3 separate regions of the Homo sapiens genome follow, and regions 1 and 3 are each linked to region 2. The links are contacts of gene promoters, found by promoter capture Hi-C in human tissues and cell types (Jung and others, 2019). All regions are on one chromosome and are shown on one strand. Each heading gives the region's core, a stretch centred on a gene start or on the middle of the fragment in contact. The rest is flanking DNA. Distances are from core to core; before and after follow the strand shown. Region 1 holds the start of ADIPOQ (adiponectin, C1Q and collagen domain containing). Region 2 holds the start of AHSG (alpha 2-HS glycoprotein). Region 3 overlaps EIF4A2 (eukaryotic translation initiation factor 4A2).

Region 1 (4,090 bases), core at 246-2,745, 230 kb after region 2:
CAAAAATAAATAGGAAAACACCATAACAAAAATCAAACAGTGATATAATTGAGAGTTGCTTCTATTTCTTTTTGTTGTCTTCTTGGTTCAATCAGCCTGCTAAACTATATGGAACCTCATTTTCATGGGCCACTTATTTAAGCCGGGGGACCTTGGAAAGTCTCTCATGTCTCTCATCTCAACGGCCTAATGTGACTTCTCTTGAAATATTTGGACATTAGCAGGAAGCTGAGGCTTTACATCAGATCTTTACTTTAATGGTGGACTTGACTTTACTGGTAGATTTTTAGGCTCTGTGTGGACTGTGGAGATGATATCTGGGGGGCAGGCAGACACTTGCCCTGCCTCTGTCTGAGAAAATTCTGTTTTGGATGTCTTGTTGAAGTTGGTGCTGGCATCCTAAGCCCTTGCTGGGGTCGTAATTTAATTCATCAGAATGTGTGGCTTGCAAGAACCGGCTCAGATCCTGCCCTTCAAAAACAAAACATGAGCGTGCCAAGAAAGTCCAAGGTGTTGAATGTTGCCACTTCAAGCCTAAACTTTCTAGGAACACCTAAGTGGGTGGCAGCTTCCAGTTCTCCAGGCTGCTTCTAGGCCAGAGCTGGGTTCCACAAGAGACAGAATAGGCATATATATGCTTAAGGAACTGGAAAAACAGGCTCTCTCTCTCTCACAAACACACACACACACATACCAAGGTAGCTGTCAAAATGTTATCCGAAATTTTGGAACCAAAAAATCTTGAAAGATGGTATTCCAATATCACATTTTATGTAAGTTTTCTATTATATTAGATTCAAATTACGATTCGAGGCCACAAGCTTTAAGAATTCAGGGCCTTTTTAACTTGCCAAGCCCCACACCACTCCAGGAACTTCCCCACACCCCAGTTCTCAGAATTCATGTGCAAGGTCTTTCCTAAATCCAGGGTCCAGGTCAGAGAGTGGAGGATGTGCTCTATTTCTTACCTGATTGCAGACCCCTCTGACAGTGCTCCCTTCTGAAGCACTCACTGTCTGAACGTACACAGTCTCAGACTTAATCATGCACAGTGAGCAAGACTGTGGTGTGATAATTGGCGTCCCTGACTTATTAGGGCAAATCTATGGGAGGGGGAGACCTCCTGGACCACTGAGCAATTAATTCATTTACATTAGGAAGTTTCTCCGTCAGATGCAGGAAAAAAATCTTGTTTTCCTGCTGTGGTTTTGACTTTTGCCCCATCTTCTGTTGCTGTTGTAGGAGGCAAAATAAGGGTCAAGGCCTGGAAACACAAGTGCTTTGACTGAAGCTCCACTTGGCTTCCGAAGCCCAAGCTGGGTTGTACCAGGTTCCCTAGGGTGCAGGCTGTGGGCAACTGCCAGGGACATGTGCCTGCCCACCGGCCTCTGGCCCTCACTGAGTTGGCCAATGGGAAATGACAATTGTGAGGTGGGGACTGCCTGCCCCCGTGAGTACCAGGCTGTTGAGGCTGGGCCATCTCCTCCTCACTTCCATTCTGACTGCAGTCTGTGGTTCTGATTCCATACCAGAGGGTAAGAGCAATTCTGTGAAGTTCCAGGCTGGGTGGGGGATGCATGCATAGCCTCTGGCTGGGATCACCCAGGCTCTCCCGTCCGTAGTAGTGTGGGAGTGGATACAGGTGGATACTCTGGTCAGAGCAGCACTGGTGGAGGCAGATATGCACTGGGCTTCTTCCTCCGTTCTCCCACAGCCCCAAGAGAGAAAGGGTTATTTCAGACATTCCTTCTAAGATGCATGGAACCATTCTGAATTTTGCCCAGTTCGCTCTGTAGCAGGATACCTATTGAGAAAAAGTTAGGGTCAGTAAGGTGGAAGGGTCTGTCCACAGATGAAGTCCAATTCGATTAAGGGGGATAAGGGAATACATTGCCTCTTAGCTTGACCAGGTAGGGCAAAGGAAGAAGCATATATGAAGGCAGCTTCAGAAAAGTCAAGCTGAGCACTGACTTCAGACTGGAATTAGGAATCCAGCTCTGCCACTTTATTCTACTCAGCAAATATTTACTGAGCAAATTCTATGGGCTAGACAGTGGATTGGGTTCACAAGATACAATGAGTGTGACATGGTTGTTGTCTATGGATTTGGGGATATATGTAGGTATAGGGATATCTTACAAGGTAATCAAGAGGTTCTAATGAGGCCAGCCATGGTGGCTCACACCTGTAATCCCAGCAATTTGGGAGACCGAGGCGGGTGGATCACCTGAGGTCAGGAGTTCCAGACTAGCCTGACCAACATGGTGAAACCCCGCCTCTACCAAAAATACAAAAATTAGTTGGGCGTGATGGCAGGTGCCTGTAATCCCAGCTTCTCGGGAGGCTGAGGCAGGAGAATTGTCTGAACCTGGGAGGCAGAGGTTGCAGTGAGCCGAGATTGTTGCCACTGCATTCCAGCCTGGGTGACAGAGCGAGACTTTGTGTCAAAAAAAAAAAAAAAAGAAAGAAAAGAAAAAGAGGCTCTAATGAGATAAAATGAGAAAAGCCTGGCATATAGTGGCAACTTATGAAAAATTGTAATTAAAAAAAAACATTTTCTGACAGAAGAAACTGGATCTACCTGGTTTTTCTGAAGCCTAATCCTGCTCGCCCCAGTGAGTGCTGTTTCTGAGGCATCCTGGTTGTTTTGAGCTGTGGATGCTGAAGGTTAGAGTGGGAGGGATTTTAGAGGTTAGGTCTGCCCCTCTTGTGTTAGAGGACATGGATCCCTGGTCTGGAGAGGTTCTGGTTTTTGGATCAAGCCTCACAAGGGGTGGCACCAACTCACTCCTAGGAACTCCGCTAGAAGGAAGGCCAGCTCTGCCTAATTCGGTTGGGGAGATGGGGGTCCCTTTATGCTAGCAGAATATGTCCGAAGGAGCATGATGGTGTCAGCTTTGTTCATGAAGGCCAGTGGTACACAGGGAGCCCGGCAGCTTCCTCAGCAGTCCCTGCTGCCACTCTTCCTTAAGTCTTGAGGAGTCTTTTTTTGGCACAATCTCAGCTCACTGCAACCTCCGCCTCCCAGGTTCAAGCGATTCTCCTGCCTCAGTCTCCCAAGTAGCTGAGACTACAGGCATGCGCCACCACGCCCAGCTAATTTTTATATTTTTAGTAGAGATGGGGTTCACCATATTGGCCAGGATGGTCTCGATCTCTTGACCTCATATTCCACCTGCCTCGGCCTCCCAAAGTGCTGGTATTACAGGTGTGAGCCACTGCGCCTGGCCGAGGAGTCTTAAGCTGAGATCACAGCATTGCACTCCAGCCTGGGCAAAAAAAGCAAAACTCCATCTCAAAAAAAAAAAAAAAAAAATAGACACAAGACTGGCTCCTTGTCTTTTTTGGGGACAGGGTCTCACTCTATCACCCAGGCTGGAGTGCAGTGGTGCAATCACAGCTCACTGCAGCCTCGATTTCCCAGGCTCAAGTGACCCTCCCATCTTAGCCTCCTGAGTAGCTGGGACTACAGGTGTGTGCAACCATGCCTGGCTAATTTTTAAAAATTTTTTGTAGAGATGAGGTCTCACTATATTGGCTGGGGGGCCTCAAACTCCTGGGCTCAGCAGTCCTCCCACCTCAGCCTCCCAAAAGGCTGGGATTATATGCTTGCTCTTTTTAAGGTGGCTGTAGGGACAAACTTTCCACCTACTCCTTGTCAAGCCAGTGGACCGGTGGTCCCAGACATACGGCTAAAGTCAAGAGGTGATGTCTTTTGGAGAGATACTTTCAATCAGGAATTTCAATCAGAAATTCAATCATGTGGAGAGAGACTTATCCTAAAAATGTGGTGGTGCGTGGGATGCTCTGTTTTATTAGTTCCTTGACAGTATGTATGTGTGTGAGTGTGTGTGTGCGCGCGCGCACACTCATTTGGATGGGTGTGTATGTGTGGGGGGGGGTGGTGCGTACGTATGTGGATGTGTGGATGTGGTGTGTGGGTGTGCGCGTGCATAGGTGGAGGTGTGTGTATGGGTGCGGGTATGTGTGTGTGTTGGGCATGGAGATATTGACAGCTCTCCCAGGGCTGAGTGAAGGCTTTCGGGCAAAGCTCCTGGGAGCTAGGCAAAGCTGAGTTGATTCCTGGTTA
Region 2 (3,663 bases), core at 822-3,321:
TATTTTACATAGAAAAAAAGAAAAGATATAAATGCATCAAAACATTAACACTGTTTATCTCTGCATGATGAGATTGTGAATGATTTCTTTTTTGAGACAGAGTCTCATTCTGTTGGCTGGGCTGGAGTGCAGTGGCACTATCATAGCTCACTGCAACCATAGCCTACTCCAGGTCTTATGCTATCATCCTGCCTTCATAGTTGGGATTACAGGTGTGTGCCACCTTACCACACTTTATTCAATTTTTCTTTTTTTTGAGTCGGAGTCCCACTCCGTTGCCAGGCTGGAGTGCAGTGGCGCAATCTTGGCTCACTGCAACCTCCACCTCCTGGGTTCAAGTGATTCTCCTGTCTCGGCCTCCCGAGTAGGTGGGACTACAGGCGCGCGCCACCACGCCCAGCTAATTTTTGTATTTTTAGAAGAGACAGGGTTTCACTGTGTTGGTCAGGTTGGGCTCAATCTCTAGGCCTCGTGATCTGCCCACCTCAGCCTCCCAAAGTGCTGGAATTACAGGTGTGAACCACCGTGCCCAGCCCTTCAATATTTTTAAAGATTATATAAAGAAAAGCATAGCTTCCACACACAGTTCAGGAGTCAGGGCCCTGAGTGAAATGGAGTATAAGGTGATGGAAGATTGCCCCTGGCTTTGAGGATCATCTTGCTGGATGACCAGAGTTTGTTTTTCATCTGGAAGAATCATGGTCCCCCTCTTGGAGAGAACCTGGAGTCCTGGCCACACCTTCTGAGCTTCTGACATTAAGATTCGGTGTGGTGTGTGAGCAGCTGGGAGTAAATGTGAGAACAGTCCTGCCAACTACCTTCTCTGCCCCATCACCACTCACTTCACCTCCCTCACCCCGATTCTCACCCCAGAAAATCAATATTAAGCTTCCCTTTGGAGGGGCCCCTCTTCTTTCTTTTTTTTTTAACCAGTTTTTTTTTCTCTGAAGCAATATCAAACATTAGAACAAATTCACCCACACACAATGATGGCCTCTAAATATTTGAAGACCATGTTGGTCTCCATGAGAGGGCTTCTTTGCTTCAGACTAAACCAAACCAGGTCCTTGTGTGATATTTCCCAAGCCTCTCTTTATCCTGCCAACCCTCCTTGGATGTCACACTTGGAATTGTCAAGGGTCACTTAATAGGCAGTGCCTGGAGTCAACACTGGCCCTCTGTTCTGGCCAGAAAGACACACTGTAATTCTGCTGAGTCTGCAAAGAATGTTCAAGGGGTATTTGTGTCCGTAGCTGCTCGTGCAGCATCTCAGCCTGCGGTGTCAGACTCGAACCCAGAGCTGTGTCAAATGAGTCAGGACTCCCCTCTGCTGCCCTTGTGCACTGGCAGGGGCACTAGGTTACTAGTGCTAGGAGACTCTGGTCAGTGCCCATCTGTGCTGTCACATGCAGGGCCCTGGCAGTGAGGTCTGGAGAAGGAAGAGAAGGGGCAGGGAACCCCACACGTTTTGCTGGTCATTTCCCACCGTGGTCCTGCCACGGGAACCCCCTTCTTCCACCTCCATTCCCCACTTTAGGCAGAAACATCTCTCATCCTTTTTCTTTTCTCCAAGAATCTTCCCCCAAAATCTTGGCATCTCCTATACACATCTGTACCTTTGCTATATCTGTGGGCCTTGTTCTCCCTGTAGGACTCCTCTTGGAAAGCTAACTCCCCCTGACATTGGAGAATTTTATCAAATTGCTGAGTATCCTCCCTTCCCTCTCACAGACCCCATGGCATGCTCAGATCACAGTAGAAGACATTTCCTCTGCTGCCAAACCCATGGCACTCTGAGGCTGACTGTGTCCACCTCATTCCCTCAGCTGTCTTCTCTTTGCTGCTATTACCATGTTCCAAGCAGACTTTGGAGCATCTCCCCCACAGCAGCATGGACTTTGGCAGATTTCTTGGGGACCAGCGATGTCCTAACCTGTTTGCTTTTCCAGGGCTGATGTTTGCAGGGTGTTTTTTTTTTTCTTTTGAACCAAAGCAGAAATCATCCTGTATCCTTATGCAATTCTTCCGGCAGGCTCCAACAGATAAATAAAGCCCACCACCCTCCATGGGTCTACCTTTCCCAGCAGAGCACCTGGGTTGGTCCCGAAGCCTCCAACCACCTGCACGCCTGCCAGGGCCTCTCTGGGGCAGCCATGAAGTCCCTCGTCCTGCTCCTTTGTCTTGCTCAGCTCTGGGGCTGCCACTCAGCCCCACATGGCCCAGGGCTGATTTATAGACAACCGAACTGCGATGATCCAGAAACTGAGGAAGCAGCTCTGGTGGCTATAGACTACATCAATCAAAACCTTCCTTGGGGATACAAACACACCTTGAACCAGATTGATGAAGTAAAGGTGTGGCCTCAGGTAAGTGGACCTGCTGTCTATGAGCTGAAATAATGTGTACATGGAGCTCAATCAGGTGCCTCAAAAAATCACCATCACCCAGTGCAAATGAAACCACAGAGGAGTAAATTCTCTGATTTCTTCCCAGGAGTGAGGGAAGGGGCAGGCAGAGGGCAGGAGAGGAGACATTCTGTATGGCAGTCATGGGTGTCAGGAGGGAGCTGGGTGGGGTGTGAGGTGGTGTGCAGGAGAAAAAGTGCTTCAAATGGTAGTGTGCAGATCACAGACAGAAAGTGTAACTTGCTGGAAAAACTAGGACCCAAGAGACCAGCTCCTAGTTGCCAAGTTACCACTGGCTGAAAATCACGTATCTGTCTTTGGTTTGGTTTCTCTCTAACAAAGACTGAGAATGAATAAAACTAGCATCTGGCAGATGCCTACTATATGCCAGGCCCATTCACATAGATTATCTCATTTACTCTTTCCCGGTCCTGCCTCCTGGTGCTGTGTGGTACATATATTGTTCTTGTCTTACCCAAGAGGAGACCAAGGCTCTGTTGTGTGTGTGTGTGCAGTTTTTTTGTTTTTTGTTTTTGTCTTTTTTTTTTTGGTCCAAAATCATATAATTACTAAGTCTTCAGGCTGGGATTTGATTCCATATCTGTGTTCCTTCTTCTACACAAACTGCCTCCCAAAGAGAGTTACCCACATCCCAGAGAGAAGTCTTGGCATAAACACAATTCACCTCCTCACACACTAGACAGGAAACCAACGCAGCTTGAAGCCAGTGACAAGAAAAATCAAGCTGGAAATATGCCTCGGGGATCAGTCAAGAGATTTGGAGAGGTGGAAAGAAGCTGTCTGCCTACTGCCTGTTTTGAAATTAGATTTATTTCTGATTAAGGACAATTCTTTCAGCAAATATGTATTACAAGCCTTCCTTGGACAAGAACCAGAGATATTAGGTTGAACCATATAAAACTGCCATTTTTCTATATCAAAAGCAACCAAATATTGGCCGTTTTAATGGTTCAACCTAATACAGTGGTGAAAAAGGCACAATATGTGCCCACAAGAGCTTACAATCTAGGTTGGAAAATAAGGTCAACAACAGGAAGCCTGGACCGACTGACGACTGCCATCCGTCTCACAAAGAGACAAAATATTTGAAATCAGGATTGCTCCGGATGGATTTTAAGAGTGCTGCAGCCATATTAAAGCACAGTGGTGGTTAGGAGGAAACGCTGATCAAGTCAGGGGAAATGAACACGCAACACGCACATCTGAGGGAAAAGGTAATCATGAATGGGCATTGTGA
Region 3 (3,917 bases), core at 1,418-3,917, 180 kb after region 2:
AAAAATTCATGAGAGATCCAATTCGAATTCTGGTGAAAAAGGAAGAATTGACCCTTGAAGGAATCAAACAGTTTTATATTAATGTTGAGAGAGAGGTAACTGTCTGATTGTTAGACATTATTTTACCTTCTTGTATAAGCACTGTGCTAAAATTGCAGACACTAGGACCATGTCTTGGTTTTTGCAATAATGCTAGCAGAGTACACACAAGAAGAAAAGTAACAGCACTAGATTGTAAAGACTGGGGTGGACCTCTTTCTTAATGTCCAATGTCCTTTGTCTTAAGATTTGGTGCAATATCTCATTAGACCTAACAGAATGAAGTTAATTTTTATAATTTCTACGTTTTGAGACTGGGTTATGAGACTGGCTAAGACTGGCCAATTTTGGTATTTTGGGTAGAGACAGTTTCACTTTCTTGAAACCCTGGTCTGGTTGGAACTCTGGGCTCTAAGTGCTAGGATCCCAAAGGGCTGGGATTACAGGCATTAGCACTGTGGCTGGCCCAGAATGAATTTTTAACTGAAGAGTTGGAAAAACTAAATGACTGTTAACTTTAACTTCTAAACATTACAGGAATGGAAGTTGGATACACTTTGTGACTTGTACGAGACACTGACCATTACACAGGCTGTTATTTTTCTCAATACGAGGCGCAAGGTGGACTGGCTGACTGAGAAGATGCATGCCAGAGACTTCACAGTTTCTGCTCTGGTAAGAGGTGTTCTAAAATGTCTGGATTTCCACTAAAGCAGGATTCAGACTACAATATAGCTGCTAAGTGCTGTGTTGTCGTTCCCCCTGCTTAAAATAAAGTTGTTTCTTAACTATACCTGTCTGCTATTCTCCTGTAGCAGCCAGGGACGCTTGGTCTCATACATGTTGATTAAAATTAAATACCGACCTGACTGGTGATTCTTGAATTAAGGTTTATTAATTTGCAGCATGGTGACATGGACCAGAAGGAGAGAGATGTTATCATGAGGGAATTCCGGTCAGGGTCAAGTCGTGTTCTGATCACTACTGACTTGTTGGTAAGTCTCTTAATGCTTTTTAAAAATCTACCAAAAGTTAGCTTTTTGGGGGGCAGGTTTTTAAGTAACCTTTGCCAACTTGGGCTATTTGGAAGAGTAAAAGACCACACTCCACAGTGGGCTATACCACTTAGTATAGTTCGCTACTATTTTGTGGCCTACATGACAGGTGTCAAGTTTTTTTGAATCAATTTTTAAAACATGCCATTGTGTTTCAGGCTCGCGGGATTGATGTGCAACAAGTGTCTTTGGTTATAAATTATGATCTACCTACCAATCGTGAAAACTATATTCACAGGTGAGAAGCCAGCATCTTGGCTGTATTGAAAAAAATTCATACGTTTTTCTACTGTGATTTGTATGAAAGGTAACATCAAATCAAGGAATAGATTCAGTAAAGTCAGTAGTGTTCAGTAAGATGATGTAATTAAATTTGTACTAGGGAAGGTTGATGAGAACAAAGTGGGAAAACTTGTAAACATTGCCCAGATTGTGGACATAGGGTTTTTTTCCACAATTGTTGGTCTTACCTTATGCTTGAGCTTTTAGTGATGTTCTTGTGTCCATGTGTTTTTCTTGGTGATTTTTTCTATAGTTGGGATTTTCTTGGTGTCGCCTGGTAGCAATTTGAGTGAACCCTGGTTTAGTTATAGTGGCTTTATCCCTAAATAAATTGAATTGTACTTTGTTATATGATGTAAAAAAAGACTTTTTAAAAAATACAGGAGTCGATAGCAGCAGTTGGTGACGAGATGGCACTCAGAAACGGCGTTGACGTAATTTAGGACGTGGAATCATAAGCGAAACAGCACACTGTTTGAATAAAGAGCGAGTCGGTATTTATATTTGTTTTTCTTTTGTCATGATTATTTGATTTTTAAGTTGCTCCAGCTAAGGCATTTTTTTGTATTAGTATTTCTATTAGGGAACCTTTCTTATTAGGTGGTTTGTATTGTCTGGTTTCTAACATGCAGGTAGCTGTTTGGCAGTTAAACACGTTTAGAGTAATTTGAGTTACAACGTGTGAAACTGAGCAAAAAAGCAGTGATAAGTTTGGGTTACCATACCAAATATTTGTTTTCCCACTGGAAAAAAGTAAGTTTTAGAAAATAGTTAACCTTTGCAGCATTTGTTTACAGTTTACAGTTCCAGAAGTGCGTCGAAATGGATTACATAACTGCTCTTTTATTCCTGGTGTTCACATCTGTCCCAGGCTGACACCTGCTCTTGGCTGGCCCACTTTGGTATGGGCTTTAATTTCACTACCCCAAACACGATACTGTCATCTGCTTTATAATAATGCTCAAGATGCCTGATAAAAATCTCATTTTGCAGCCAGACAAGCCTTGAATCCTTTTGGCACTAACTGCAAAGGAAGATTTTTTTCTCTAGATATGCATTAGCAGCTAGTGCTCCAGTTAGAAGCACGAACTATAACCTTGATAAGTAAACAGCAGCTGGTGGTTAACAAGTGGATCGTCATGTTCAGTAGTTTATACATTATGTGAGAAGTAACGTTCTGATTCTTTTTCTTACACAGAATTGGCAGAGGGGGTCGATTTGGGAGGAAAGGTGTGGCTATAAACTTTGTTACTGAAGAAGACAAGAGGATTCTTCGTGACATTGAGACTTTCTACAATACTACAGTGGAGGAGATGCCCATGAATGTGGCTGACCTTATTTAATTCCTGGGATGAGAGTTTTGGATGCAGTGCTCGCTGTTGCTGAATAGGCGATCACAACGTGCATTGTGCTTCTTTCTTTGGGAATATTTGAATCTTGTCTCAATGCTCATAACGGATCAGAAATACAGATTTTGATAGCAAAGCGACGTTAGTCGTGAGCTCTTGTGAGGAAAGTCATTGGCTTTATCCTCTTTAGAGTTAGACTGTTGGGGTGGGTATAAAAGATGGGGTCTGTAAAATCTTTCTTTCTTAGAAATTTATTTCCTAGTTCTGTAGAAATGGTTGTATTAGATGTTCTCTATCATTTAATAATATACTTGTGGACTAAAAGATATAAGTGCTGTATAAAATCAGCCAATTATGTTAAACTAGCATATCTGCCTTTATTGTGTTTGTCATTAGCCTGAGTAGAAAGGCCTTTAAAATTTTTTTAGAAAGCATTTGAATGCATTTTGTTTGGTATTGTATTTATTCAATAAAGTATTTAATTAGTGCTAAGTGTGAACTGGACCCTGTTGCTAAGCCCCAGCAAGCAATCCTAGGTAGGGTTTAATCCCCAGTAAAATTGCCATATTGCACATGTCTTAATGAAGTTTGAATGTTAAATAAATTGTATATTCACTTTAAAGGTGCTTTTGGTCATTTTATTTTTATTACAACTTCATTATTTACAAAACCCCCCATCCAGATATATTCACGTTAACAATTCTGAGATAACTGCTGCATCACAGTTGCACAAAGGCTGATGAGTTGCAAATGTTCATCAGCACCATCTGCTAGGCATTTGTCAACTTCCTACGAGAAAAATTTAAGAAATTAGCATCCTTCAGGTAGTTAAATGTTCCATTGACATGTGCAAAGTACCTACTTACGGCAAGTTTTTCTGTGATAATAGACTTCTGTTTATCAGATAAGTTATTTTCTACAACCACATCATGGAGTTGATTGACGAGCTGAGTTGCTGCATGACCCTCATCTATTAAATCCTATAATAAAAAAAACTTTTGGTATGATGACTTAATATTCCTTTCCCCAAAGTTAGTAAGCTGACTTTACCTTGACCACAGCTTCTAGTTTGTCAAAAGAGCCACTCTGACAGGCAGCAAATACTCCATCAATTTTCTCAGCTGGTATTACCTAGGTAATTGAATGTTCGGTATTAAAGATGTTTCTAGGTGAGACTAGACATACACTCTGC

The links. The method cuts DNA at HindIII sites, captures the fragments that hold promoters and counts their contacts. A contact is called where the count stands out against the background at its distance.
Region 1: the fragment with the promoter of ADIPOQ here is called in contact with the fragment with the promoter of AHSG in region 2 in 1 of the 25 tissues and cell types used here (stomach).
Region 3: a contact is called between a fragment that was not itself captured here and the fragment with the promoter of AHSG in region 2, in 2 of the 25 tissues and cell types used here (aorta and hippocampus).

What each region holds. Positions count from the first base shown.
Region 1 is chr3:186,841,215-186,845,304 of GRCh38, forward strand. ADIPOQ (adiponectin, C1Q and collagen domain containing) reads left to right here and starts at 1,496. Exons shown (of 3, transcript NM_004797.4): 1 at 1,496-1,535. RefSeq lists a promoter at 820-1,518, a cis regulatory region at 920-947 and an enhancer at 1,536-4,090. The HindIII fragment of the contact is 4,509 bases long and covers 1-3,617 here.
Region 2 is chr3:186,610,989-186,614,651 of GRCh38, forward strand. It overlaps AHSG (alpha 2-HS glycoprotein), which reads left to right and starts at 2,072. Exons shown (of 7, transcript NM_001622.4): 1 at 2,072-2,366. The coding sequence starts at 2,154. The HindIII fragment of the contact is 10,895 bases long and covers 1-3,663 here.
Region 3 is chr3:186,786,551-186,790,467 of GRCh38, forward strand. It overlaps EIF4A2 (eukaryotic translation initiation factor 4A2), which reads left to right. Exons shown (of 11, transcript NM_001967.4): 7 at 1-95; 8 at 577-714; 9 at 945-1,034; 10 at 1,253-1,332; 11 at 2,575-3,347. The coding sequence ends at 2,719. It overlaps RFC4 (replication factor C subunit 4), which reads right to left. Exons shown (of 11, transcript NM_002916.5): 9 at 3,776-3,856; 10 at 3,592-3,705; 11 at 3,350-3,514. The coding sequence ends at 3,419. It overlaps MIR1248 (microRNA 1248), which reads left to right and starts at 122; the gene lies at 122-227. SNORA81 (small nucleolar RNA, H/ACA box 81) reads left to right here and starts at 126; the gene lies at 126-302. It also overlaps SNORA63 and SNORA4. The HindIII fragment of the contact is 9,961 bases long and covers 1-3,917 here.